4 separate regions of the Homo sapiens genome follow, and regions 1, 2 and 3 are each linked to region 4. The links are contacts of gene promoters, found by promoter capture Hi-C in blood cells and fetal thymus (Javierre and others, 2016). All regions are on one chromosome and are shown on one strand. Each heading gives the region's core, a stretch centred on a gene start or on the middle of the fragment in contact. The rest is flanking DNA. Distances are from core to core; before and after follow the strand shown. Region 1 has its middle 48 kb from the start of REG3G. Region 2 has its middle 27 kb from the start of REG3G. Region 3 overlaps CTNNA2 (catenin alpha 2). Region 4 holds the start of MRPL19 (mitochondrial ribosomal protein L19).

Evidence for each region. The method cuts DNA at HindIII sites, captures the fragments that hold promoters and counts their contacts. A CHiCAGO score of 5 or more calls a contact.
Region 1: a fragment that was not itself captured here is called in contact with the fragment with the promoter of MRPL19 in region 4 in 2 of 17 cell types (M2 macrophages and naive B cells); the score reaches 9.3 in M2 macrophages.
Region 2: a fragment that was not itself captured here is called in contact with the fragment with the promoter of MRPL19 in region 4 in 1 of 17 cell types (M2 macrophages); the score reaches 8.2 in M2 macrophages.
Region 3: a fragment that was not itself captured here is called in contact with the fragment with the promoter of MRPL19 in region 4 in 5 of 17 cell types (total CD4 T cells, total B cells, naive B cells and 2 more); the score reaches 9.9 in total CD4 T cells.

Annotation. Positions count from the first base shown.
Region 1 is chr2:78,976,518-78,979,648 of GRCh38, forward strand. No RefSeq gene overlaps it. Among named protein-coding and RNA genes, the nearest start is that of REG3G, 48 kb to the right of the region's middle. The HindIII fragment of the contact is 3,634 bases long and covers 21-3,131 here.
Region 2 is chr2:78,997,296-79,000,103 of GRCh38, forward strand. No RefSeq gene overlaps it. Among named protein-coding and RNA genes, the nearest start is that of REG3G, 27 kb to the right of the region's middle. The HindIII fragment of the contact is 1,909 bases long and covers 387-2,295 here.
Region 3 is chr2:79,887,170-79,890,302 of GRCh38, forward strand. The region is part of intron 6 of CTNNA2 (catenin alpha 2); the gene reads left to right. Among named protein-coding and RNA genes, the nearest start is that of MIR8080, 22 kb to the left of the region's middle. The HindIII fragment of the contact is 3,213 bases long and covers 198-3,133 here.
Region 4 is chr2:75,645,487-75,648,351 of GRCh38, forward strand. It overlaps MRPL19 (mitochondrial ribosomal protein L19), which reads left to right and starts at 1,297. Exons shown (of 6, transcript NM_014763.4): 1 at 1,297-1,424; 2 at 1,616-1,733. The coding sequence starts at 1,322. RefSeq lists enhancers at 1,097-1,391, 1,227-1,526. The HindIII fragment of the contact is 2,636 bases long and covers 1,109-2,865 here.

The DNA of each region.
Region 1 (3,131 bases), core at 588-3,087, 3.3 Mb after region 4:
ATCTTGCTTCTTAGAGGAAAAGCTTTATAGAATGAGTTAGAAAGCATTTCTTCCTCTTCAAATTTTTGCAACAGTTTGAGAAATATTGGTAGTAATTCTTAAATATTTGGTAGAATTCACCAGTAAAGTAATTTAATATTGGACTTTTCTCTCTTGAAAGGTTTTGGTTATTAATTCAGTCTTTTTAGTAGTTTTAGGTCTATGTCTATTTAGCTTTTCTATTTTTTCATGATTCAGTCTCAGTAGGTTGTATGTTTCTAGGAATTTGTCCATTTCATCTAAATTATTCAATTTGGGTGTACAATTATTCATAGTACACTCTTAAGATTATTTTTATATTTCTGTAAAATCATCCCCTCTTTCATTCCTGATTGTAATTCAAATCTTCTTTCCTCTTAGACAATCTAGCTAAAGTTTATCAAATGTGTTGATCTTTTCAAAGAACCAGCTCTTGGTTTTGTTGATGTTCCCTATTGTTTCTCTATTTTCCATTTTTATTTATTCTCTCTAATCTTTGTTATCTTGAAAATATGTTTGTATAATATAAAATTATATCTCAATATAATTCATTTTTAAAGTTAAGAAATTACCACGTTGTCATTCAATAACTGTACCTAGCTCAGGTTTTGTAAAATACTGTGTGTGAGTGCGTGAGCGAATGAATGAAAGAACAAGTGAGTGAGCAACTGGCCTGCCATTAAAAAATAGGACCGTTTCTCCCTCTCTTCTCAATGGCAAGCCGTTTTCAAGTGGCCTTGCCTCATTGGTTAATATAACTGTTATTGTTTTATATTAAGCAACTATTAAATGGCATGTACTACTCTAGATGCTTCACAAACTTAACATTCCCTCATCCAATCCTCTTTAACGCTGATGTTATTATCCTCACTTTGCACATAGGCAGAAAAATGAGATCTGATGTGATATGTAAGCTCAAGTGACTAATGTATGCCAGTATCAAGAATCAAATTCACTCCTGTCTGATTCTAAAGCTATATATTTTTCCATTCTACCTTTTCTGATTTTGGTATTTCAAGGAATAAAATACCTAGTATATGACTTAGTCTCAGGATTTAGAGAGATAGATACAGGTTACTTTTTGTGATGCAGATTTATGACAAGATTCCCAGAAATGTAGTATAACACATAAGTGTGACCTTATGAGCAGAAAAATCACCTTAGTTTCACTAGTCCACCCTGTTTGGGAACTAGGAAACTTTCAGTGTTACTCAACACAGTAAATTAACCACCGATGGCCCACTTCCTCTTTCTTTACCTAGAAAAAATACTTCCTCAAAAAGAGACTTCTACTGTGCGTGATGATGGTTGCCATTCAACATGCAATTCCTTTGTTGGGAGGAGTTAGCTCTAAGCTACTCCATTGGTGACTGAATTTTAACACGCCAGTCCACATATGACTGCCTATATAATCTAAGTCACTCTGGTTTTGCTATCCCAGGATCCACCTTCTACACAGTGCACACTGCATGAATTATAGAAACTAGACTATGGGAAAGTTGACAGTTGCTTCATTTCTCCAGAAAAGCCACATGCCTGCAGCTGTCAAGGGTAGCCCGACCAATGTACCAGGTCACTAGTTCAACACTTGTGGAGAGTTGAGGGCACTGATCCCCATTCTAAAAGATTCTCAACATAGAGAACTAGAAAATATCAGTCTTAAGAGAGTATTATCAATGTTCCCTGAAGGGATTCATTCTATTTTTGTAAACCCCAACTGGTTTCTTAAATATTTAATCCATCATGCAATCAGAATAGTTGTAATCACCTATCATCAAACTGGAAGAAAATATTATTTTTTACACAAAGAGATCATTGTTTCTTAAAAGCAGTAAATGATACATGCCTGATAAGCAAAAATAATACATTTGTTCAGAGGATTAAGCACTTTGAGATGGATTGTTCAGAGAAAGTTTTGTGGGAAGATTCCAATGTAAAATGGGACTGGGGAAAGCACAACATGAAAGGCAGAGTAGTATTTACAAAGACAAAGGAGGAGCCAACCTTTGATGCTGGTCCTCTAATCCTTACACATTCCTCCCTGCTCAGGGCTTAAAGACTTCTAAAAACTGACTCTTGCTTCTCTCTGCAAGTGTGAGACACAAATTTCTACCACCATTTACTAGCCAAGTGATTCAGGCAACTCATGCAACCCCTCTGCACTTCAGGTGATGAATATATGAAAAGATAATCACATCTGCTAGCAGCTGGGGATTGAAGGACTGTGCGTACAAAAGAAAAAAGCACAGTGCCTGGAATACAGAAACCAGTCAACAAAAGCATTTCCTTTCCCTTGACCTGTTCAGAACTTTTTTTTTCTTTTTTCTTTTTTTTTTTTTTTTGAGATGGAGTCTCTCTTTCTCACCCAGGCTGGAGTGTAGTGGCGTGATCTCAGCTCACTGCAACCTCCGCCTCTGGTGTTCAAGTGATTCTCCTGCCTCAGCGTCCTGAGTAGCTGGGATTACAGGCACCCGCCACCAAGCCAGGCTAATTTTGTATTTTTAGTAGAGATAGGGTTTCACCGTTTTGGCCAGGCTGGTCTCGAACTCCTGACTGCAGGTGATCTGCCTGCCTCAGCCTCCCAAAGTGCTGGGATTACAGGCGTGAGCCACCGTGCCCGGCCGAACTTTTCTTTGCCTAATACCAATGCATTGTAAACGTATGGGAAAAAAGATTAATTGGGTTGCAAGGAGACTTGAGTGCTAGTCTTGCCTTTACCACATAATGAGCTGGGTGGTCTGGGGTGGATAATTTTGGTTTGCCATTGTTGCTTTCTCTTTGAAATGAAGAGGATAGCCAGGAACTCCAAGATTCCTTCCAGCTTATTCATTCATGTCTTTGCATTGCTGAGCATCACCCCAGGGATGTTTTATCATCTCAGGCAGTGAGGAATTGGGATCCCTTGTGTTCCCCTAGCACCCTTTCTATTAACCCGAGAGTGTGCTGGAGGATACTGCTTTTCTGGAGAGCACACACTTCATATTGGGCGACTGTGACACAGGCATCTGAGTGGTCTCTGGCAGGACTTTGCAATATCCGCCCTGGGAAATGGCAAGGGCACCCGAGGACCTGTGAGCTGGCAGGGCCGTGTCACCCCAAAAGACAAGGACTCT
Region 2 (2,808 bases), core at 91-2,590, 3.4 Mb after region 4:
TCTCAAACTTTTCTGCTAGTCTTGAACTCCTGGACCCAAGTGATCCACCCGCCTCAGCCTCCCAAAGTGCTGGGATTACACCGTGAGGCACCATGCCAGCCCTCACTGCATCTTCTAATCCTTCCTAAGGTTTTGACTCCACCTACAGCTTCTTTCCTTGGATATGGTAGTTCACACATCCTAGTTGAAAACAAATCATGGAAATTTGCCAAGAGTAGATTTCAGGTGCTTTCAACAGACACCAAAAGGTAACTCTGTGGGAAGACGGCTATGTTAATTTGTTTGACTGTGATAAGCACTTCGTTAGGTCTATGTATACCAAAACATTATGTTGTACACCTTAAATACTACAATTTAAACATTTTAAAACAATAAAATAAAGAGAAAGCTTGCCCTATTCTTCAGGCTTGAGGTGCTTGAGAATAACACCTGGCAGATACAGCCACCTTGGAATAAGAGGAGAGACACTGGCTACACTACAGGGAAGGGGATAGACATCAGGAGCAGGTACGCAGCATGATAAAACACACAGCTGCGCACACACACATCCTCCTCACTCACTTGCAGAAGCCCCAAATGCTTTCAGAGTTGGGGCCAACTTCCTTTCTTGGAAAACATGACACTTGGCATTCAAATGCATGTGGGAGATGAGATGTGTCCAGCAGGCAAGAGTGAGGCAGGAGCATAAAGACACAGCACTCTCCAGGTGACCTGAGGTCTACCTCATCTCTGTTTTCTTCTGTCCTGGCCCCTTCACTGCTCTGAGAATCAATATCCTCATCCTAAAAGGGAGATCTAGACTAGACCAGTGGGTAGAATACTTTTTCCATAAAGGGCCAGATACTAATATTTTAGACCACACGCCATATCGTCCCTGTTGCAACTACTCAACTCTGTGGCAGCAAAAAAGCAGCTACAGACAATACGTAATAAAAGGAGGGAGGCTGTGTTTGCAGCTCGTAGGTTGCCATGCTCTGAGCTCCACATTCTCTTGGTTCAGAAGTTCAGCCATTATAGCCCAGGGTTCAAATTGAGGCCCAACAGACCTTGTTGGTCTTCAGTTCTGTGAGCTCAGTCCTCTTGATCTATTTTCTGCTCTGATAACCTGTCTGGACCCAGATTTCGTGCCAAGAATGGGAGCTTGCCATCATCCTGCTAGGCTCCCCAGACTAATTGGAAGCCAAGTCACTGTAACTTACTGATGCCATCACTGTATTCCCGATGCCATCAGCAAGTAGAATTGATAGCAACACCCTGTTCACACTAGACGTGCCTCCACCCTGAATCCAAGTCCATCTTGCTCCTACCCCCATCAGGGCAGCTGGGACCATTTGCTGCTGTCTTGGTTCCTCTGTGTGGAAGGAAAGTCTGACCTATACTGCACAGCCTCAGCTTCAATTGCCCAAACCTGACCATCTCTCAGTACTGCCGTTGTTCTGTCTCCCAATCTCTGACCTGCCACCACCACAGGGCTTGATTCTAGATCTTGGATCCTTCTCTTTCCCCTGTCCTGTGTAAGTCATGAGACCTTGTTCAGCAAAGTTTTCTGTCAATTATCAGATGGACAGAGATTCAGGTACATGAAGGAAAACAGGGATCTCAGATTTAGAAGTGGAAAGAAGTCTTCAGCCCACTTCATAGAAGTATTGCACAAGGTCAGAATCAGACTGAGTCCAGATGATACTCCTCTAATAAACTTGACCTTGTGAATCATTACTTGGAAAACATCAGTAAAGCAGGGTGGCACAGAAATCTAAGCTAGCATTAAAATCAGAAAAGGGCTGGGTTATGGTGGCTTACACCTGTAATCCCTAATTTTTACTTCTGAGAAATGCAGGATTCTATCTGAACTGGGCTATTTTTTTTTTCTGAAGTCTCTTATATTCTCTTTTTTATTTGAATTGACTTAATCTCCAACCAAATTATAAAAAAGGTGAACATGTATAACCCCAAATCTCAATCCCAGATCTGTCTTAAGTCTACATGTTATCCCAGCACTTTGGGAGGCTGAGGTGGGTGGATCACCTGAGGTCAGGAGTTCGAGACCAGCCTGGCCAACATGGTGAAACCACGTCTCTACTAAAAATACAAAAATTAGCCGGGCTTGGTGGCATGTGCCTGTAATCCCAGCTACTTGGAAGGCTGAGGCAGGAGAATCTCTTGAACTCGGGAGGCGGAGGCTTCAGTGAGCCGATATCAGGCCATTGCACTCCAGCCTGGGTGACAGAGTGAGACTCCTTCTCAAAAAATAAAAATAAAATAAAAAATCAGAAAGTAAAGTCCTAGGCCTGCACAAGCTTTATGACAGGCTTATAGCACCCTCTTGTGTTTACTTCTGAGAAATGCAGGATTCTATCTGGACTGGGCTTTTTTTTTTTTTCCAGAAATCTCTTATATTCTCATTTTTACTTGAACTGACTTAATCTCCAACCAAATTACAAAGAAGGCAAACATGTATAATCCCAAATCTCAATCCCAGATCTGTCTTAAGTCTACATGTTATCTCATTCCATTTTCAAAATATCCCTCTGAAGGAGGTCAGGTAGGTTCTGACTCTCTTGGGAGCAGGTGGAAGCAGAGACTGAAAGTCTTGCCCAAGATCACAAAAAGGATCCACAGCAGAACAGCCTGTGCCATCACCCAGGGCTCCTGGCTGCAACAGGCCTAATATTCTTAAATGGTTATTTCACAGGACTTCTCAGGTTGAGCAGGTTTCCATCTCTGCGAGGGTCAGGTCATCACCAAAGCACACAGGGGTCAGTTGTGTCACAGAGTGTGGGGAAATAGGGCAAGAAGTAGGAAGCCAGT
Region 3 (3,133 bases), core at 554-3,053, 4.2 Mb after region 4:
TGAGTTTGAAGAAGCAAAGCTGCAGAGTAGGGAGACAGATAAGCGTGAGAAATTAGGAATGTCTGCAGTATATCAATAGAGTAGAATTAGGAAGAAGTGGGTGAATCTGAACCATACTGAGGAAGTAGAATCAACAGGTCATGAGAATTGTACTTTTTATTTCCATATATTGAAATAGTGTTTTGTATTGTCATGTAAGCTTTAGCTAATTAAAAAACCAAACATTTTCTAGGTCTAATTATGAAATCTTGAGAAATTTCAGTCATTTTTTGGAAAATTTGATGTTTTTACATAATATAACTTTCTTGCACTGATTTTTTTGGCTCTTAGTTCATTTCCGTTCCCATCAGTATGATTGTTAAATCCCTAGTCATTTATGCAGATATTATATATTTTGAATATTCTTAAACAAAATTCTACAAAGTCTAGGATTTTTCTAACTTAGGTTAATCTGTTTGTGCTTAATTGGGCTCCTACTATGTGCTTAGCATGCTCTTTTTACTTCTTAAAAAAGAAAAAAACAACTTTTTGATACTTTTTTGAAAAGTGGAGACAAACTTTTCCATCTTTAGGGCATAGTATCAGTAACTGATGCTTAGTGGGAACCAGAAATCCTCACCTGTTCATCGTATCTTCTCCCAGTGGAGTACCTTCCAAATTTATTTCTTCTTTTTCAATGGCAAATTAAACTCATCAAAACTGCCTTTTCAATTCTTTCTAACTGGAAACAAGCAGGAGCGTTCCAGCATTCTTTATCCTACACTGACATCTGGTGGCCAAACAAAGCATTAAGAAACACTCCTGTGGGTTCTTAGATCCCTGTAAACATACTACAATTTATATATGTAATACGGGCTCAAACCCAAGGGATGCAAATATGGACAGTGTGTAGTCATCCGTCAAAAAGTGTTTAGTCTACCTATGACAACCTTCTGAACACTAATGTTATGCAATGCAAGTCCAGCTAATTCTTAAAACCATCCCTACCTCTGGGATGGTGATAAAGATAGATGCAATACATGTGAGCTTATAGGAAGAGGAGTGCAAGGTAGGGTGGTGAGTCAAGGCTGGTTCTGCTGGGTGCTTGGGGACCAGGTTAGGCATCATCGTAGACAACATAGTCTTCACTGCTTCCTGAGCTATACCGCTTCACTTTCCAGAATCCATCTTTTCTGCCCAGAAATCTCTTTCCGGGTTATTGACACCTCTTGTATAGGTTATCGATACCTCTGATATTGCTTCTAAACAGCTTTTCTTTCCTAAGGTTTTATAAATCTAGGAGTATTTTCTGATAGAATCATTTACCTTTCAATTTTTTTACTTGCTTTAAGAAATATTCCAAAACAATTTACTTTTCTCTTGCGCATTTCAATCACTAAAGATCTCTAAAAATTGTTGAGCAAATAAAAGAATGAAATTTGAAGTACTTTTTTTTATAATTGCAATTTATATCTTGATTTTTTGGCCCCCTATCAGGTTTAATCAAAATTATTATATTTCCAATCTTGGGTTATTTCTTGAGGCAGCGAAAAATGTAAGAATCTGTTTTCTTCCTAGTGTGACTGATTTTTGCTTTTGAGAATATTGACAGATTCTTTAGGTCTGATTTCACCTTTATTTCAAGTTAGTACCAAATATAATAATGAATACTGATGTAATTGATTATGATATTCAAAATTGTCTAACATGTGATGGCAAGTATAATTTTGATTGTCACTTATCTATTAGTTATACTTTTTCAAATTTCGGACCCAAATAAGGCCACTTATCTAGTGAACTCTTTATTAGAGCAACATGTGGTTTATTTAAAATGTTTGATTTTTTAATCTTTAAATACATTTAATACTTTAGTCTTTCTGTGTGATTTCTTATGTTAGTACTGCTAATCTTTACTTCTCCCTCCAGGATTATGACTTCTCGTGTGCTTCCTATGTTACAGTGCTGGGAACGTGATAGGGAGTTACTTAAATGTTCTAAGATTTAGTTTGATTCAGTGGTGAAGTAAACCACACACAAACACACACACACACGTGCAACAACTGCACGTGAAGCATCCATTTGGATTTTTCAACCATACTGCTCAACGTATTTCCTGAACTTCTTTTCCAGCAGAATATTATGGAAACTTCACTATAACCTATTGAGTCCCATTCTTTATTTCCCCAAATGTTCTCTGATACTGTCTTTTTTTCTGATTGTATAAATTCATTGAGCTAAGGCTGTAGAAAAACAATTACTCATATGCACGTATGATTAGCAGGCACCCAACATAACTGAGAACATAAATAGTCGGTTGTGGTTTGACCTGGTTACATTGGCCATGCTAAACAATGGTGGGACAGCATCTCATAGGGCAGAGAACAGGCTTGTGTTTGAATCTTACCAAATAACTCTTCCCTCTGTGCCTCTGTTTCTTCATCTATAAAATGAGATAATAATGTTGACTCCAAGTTGGTGGTAGTTTTGTGGGATGAACATTTATATGTGTCTAATCTATAGTAGGCACTCATAAATACTAGTTTTCTTCTTCTCCTACCCATCTTAATAGACGTGTTGGCCAGACATCTTTCATCCAGATTCAGCTGTGAAGCTATTCCCTAGAAAAACCCTGGGAAAAAGCTCCTGACTGAAAAGTTGTTATGCCACTGGAGAGTAGCTATTGATATTATAATGTCATTTGCTCTCCCTTGCCTATAGCCAAACCCTAATGCATAACAGACTCCAAAGAAGGTCTGGCCAAAGCATAAAGCAGTCTTGAGAGGCTGGCCATTCTATGTGACAGGAGAAATTCCAAACAGATTAAATTACCTCTTGGTGTAAGAGTGATTCTTAACGTGAGACCTAACAAGTCCAGTGTGAATACTAAGAATGTAAGTTTCTCCATTGTGTCTATTTGGGAATTCTTATTGCTTAACCAGCTTCTGATGCTGTGAATGCCATTTTTAGTTTCACATTAAATATGAGATTTCTTCTGCTTTGTTGGTCTCTGAAGATTGCTCAGCGAGCACCTGGAATAAAGAGGAGCGAATGGCAGAAAGCGGGTAGGGATAAAGGGAGAAAAGATGACATAGACTGTGGTCCCTGATGAATCCAGGAACCACAGCCTGAAGCAGTTTATCGTATTTTAAACATG
Region 4 (2,865 bases), core at 47-2,546:
GTGTTCAATCCTTATATAACCACTGCTGAAATAACAAATTCCAAATTTCTTTTTTTGTGTGTGTTTCTTTTTCTGTTTTTTTGAGACGGAGTTTCGCTCTTGTTGCAATGGCGCGATCTCGGCTCACTGCAACCTCTGTCTCCCAGGTTCAAGCGATTCTCCTGCCTTAGCCTCCCAAGTAGCTGGGATTACAGGAGCCTGCCACCACACCTGGATCATTTTTTTTATTTTTGGTAGAAACGGGGTTTCACTATGTTGGCCAGGCTAGTCTCAAACTCCTGACCTCAGGCGATCTGCCCGCCTCGGCCTCCCAAAATGCTGGGGTTAAAGGCGTGAGCCACTGCGCCCGGCTGTGTGTTTGTTTCTTAGAGATACGGTCTCACTATATTGCCCAGGCTGGTTTCCAACTCATGAGCTCAAGGGACCCTCCTGTCTCGGCCTCCCACAGTGCTGGGATTACAGGCATGCCTGGCCACGCCCAGTCATTTTCCAAATTTCTTAACAAGACTTACAATTTACCTTTTCCAGCTTTACTTCTCCCACCTATCCATACCCACAGTTGCCCAGCCCAAATTCATTTGGGTTCCTCAAAGGGTTAATGCTTTGTGTAGTCTCAAGGACTATGGGCCAGCAGTTCTGTCAGGAACTATTCTATTCTCTTTTCTGTGCATTCAGCAAAGAATTAGAAAAATTAGCTGGGCGTGATGGTGCGAGACTGTAGTCTTGGCTACTCGGGAGGCTGAGGTGAGAGGATCTCCTGACATCAGGAGTTGGAGGCTGCAGAGCCATGATCGCGCCACTGCACTCCAGCCTGGGTAACAGAGGAAGACCTTGTCTCAACAAAACAAAAGATGTTAGTGAGGGCCCAGGTAGGTGCTAGGTGCTGGGATAACATGGTGAGCAAAAAGAAGACTTTATCCCTTCCCTTGCCTCATTATAGTATAATGGCAGATTTAAATACTAATCTAATAATTACACAAGAAAGAATTGCAAATGAGATCAGAGCTGCCAATCGAAGGCACCCAGTGGGAAAGACGGCCTACAATGGGATTTTCGCATAGCGAAAGCTTGTCTGAGAAGATAGAGTGGATTCATAGGGGGAGGAAAAAGCTTTCTAGGCTGGGAGAACACCCCTGTGGAGGGGTGTAACTTGGCGCATTACGAGGAACTAGAGAAACGTGCACTTTTCCTAAGACATCAGGAAAGGAGCGAGGAGAGACTTATCCATTTTGTCCCATAGCAGCCGCCATATGGTGGCAGACAGCAACAACCTCGTCGCACTGATTACTGGGAGCTGTAGTCTTGACGTGAGCTAGCTGGCATGGCGGCCTGCATTGCAGCGGGGCACTGGGCTGCAATGGGCCTAGGCCGGAGTTTCCAAGCCGCCAGGACTCTGCTCCCCCCGCCGGCCTCTATCGCCTGCAGTAAGTGGAGCCGGACTTGCGAGCTGGGGCGCGTTAGGGGCCCAGGGTCAGGATGGGGGAGGCGAACCTGGAGATCAGAGGCAACCCCAGCGTTGGTCCCCCGTGGGACGCCGGGTTGGGGGAGATTGCGGGGCTCTGCGGGATCTCAGGGTTGGCACGAGAGTTCTGACCTCCGTCGTCCGCTCCCGCAGGGGTCCACGCGGGGCCTGTCCGGCAGCAGAGCACTGGGCCTTCCGAGCCCGGTGCGTTCCAACCGCCGCCGAAACCGGTCATCGTGGACAAGCACCGCCCCGTGGAACCGGAACGCAGGTGAGGCACTGCCCTGGCGCTAGGCCGGCAACTGGGGTCGGTGCGCGCGTGAGCGCGTTCGCGTTCGAGGTCCCGGCTCTAAGGTGGGGGCTGCACCTCCCCCTGCACGAGCAGGTGTGTAGGATTCAAGAGCCAGCGCACCACACTGTTCTTTCTTTCTCACTTCTCCCCAAGCCAGCATTGAACTTCTTTGCAGTTTTATTGAGTCAGAACTTCAAGTAGGGGTTCCCCATATTTTAAACTCTTTTCTCTGTGGTATTTGTCCTGTACCAGAGTTTTTCTCTGAGGTATATCCTGTTTATACCTGTTTACGTCCAAGAGCTCTTCTTTTCTCTCAAAAGACCCTTAACCCTGGATAGGAATCGATTGGCCAACTTAAAAAATTTGCTATGGTTTAGGTTGGAAGTTTTGGCAGACAAAGCACAGTAAAACTGGCCACTAAATTGTGTCTGAAACTTACTCATCAAAATAGTGTGAATAAAAACTTATATGAATGGTGGTAATCTTGGAGGTACATGTAAATTTAAAGGACTTAAGGTCTGAAAAGAGAGCTATGTAGCAACCTTTTTAAAAAGCCAGTTTTCAGAGGAAAAACCTGATATGATTATAGGCTTTTTGAAAGGGCTGTAGATTATTGATTGGATTACTTCTGGGATTTTTAATTTTTTTATTTTTTAAATTTTTTTTAGACAGAGTCTCTCTCAGTCTCCCAGGCTGGAGTGCAGTGGTGATTTTAGCTCACTGCAGCCTCAAATTTCTGGGCTCAAGTGATCCTCCCGCCTCAGGCTCCAGAGTAGCTGGAACTACTGGTACCACGCCTGGCTTTTTTTTTTCTTTTCTTTTTTTAACATTTAAAATATTCCACGGATTTAAATAGAAGTAAACTTGGAGTTAGAGAACTAAGAGATTCAGAAAATATTTCTTCATAAAACTTTGCTTTTGAGGGTAGAAATGGAATATCTCTTTTAAACAGTGGCATTTAATAGAATTCACTTAAATAGGAATGTAAATTATATGCTCTAGAGAACAATTTGACAGAATTTACTAAGTTTAAGTTGTGTATACCTTCTCACTCAGAAAGCACACAACTTAAACTCCTAACGTGTATGTACAAGGAGACAAGCACGAGAAT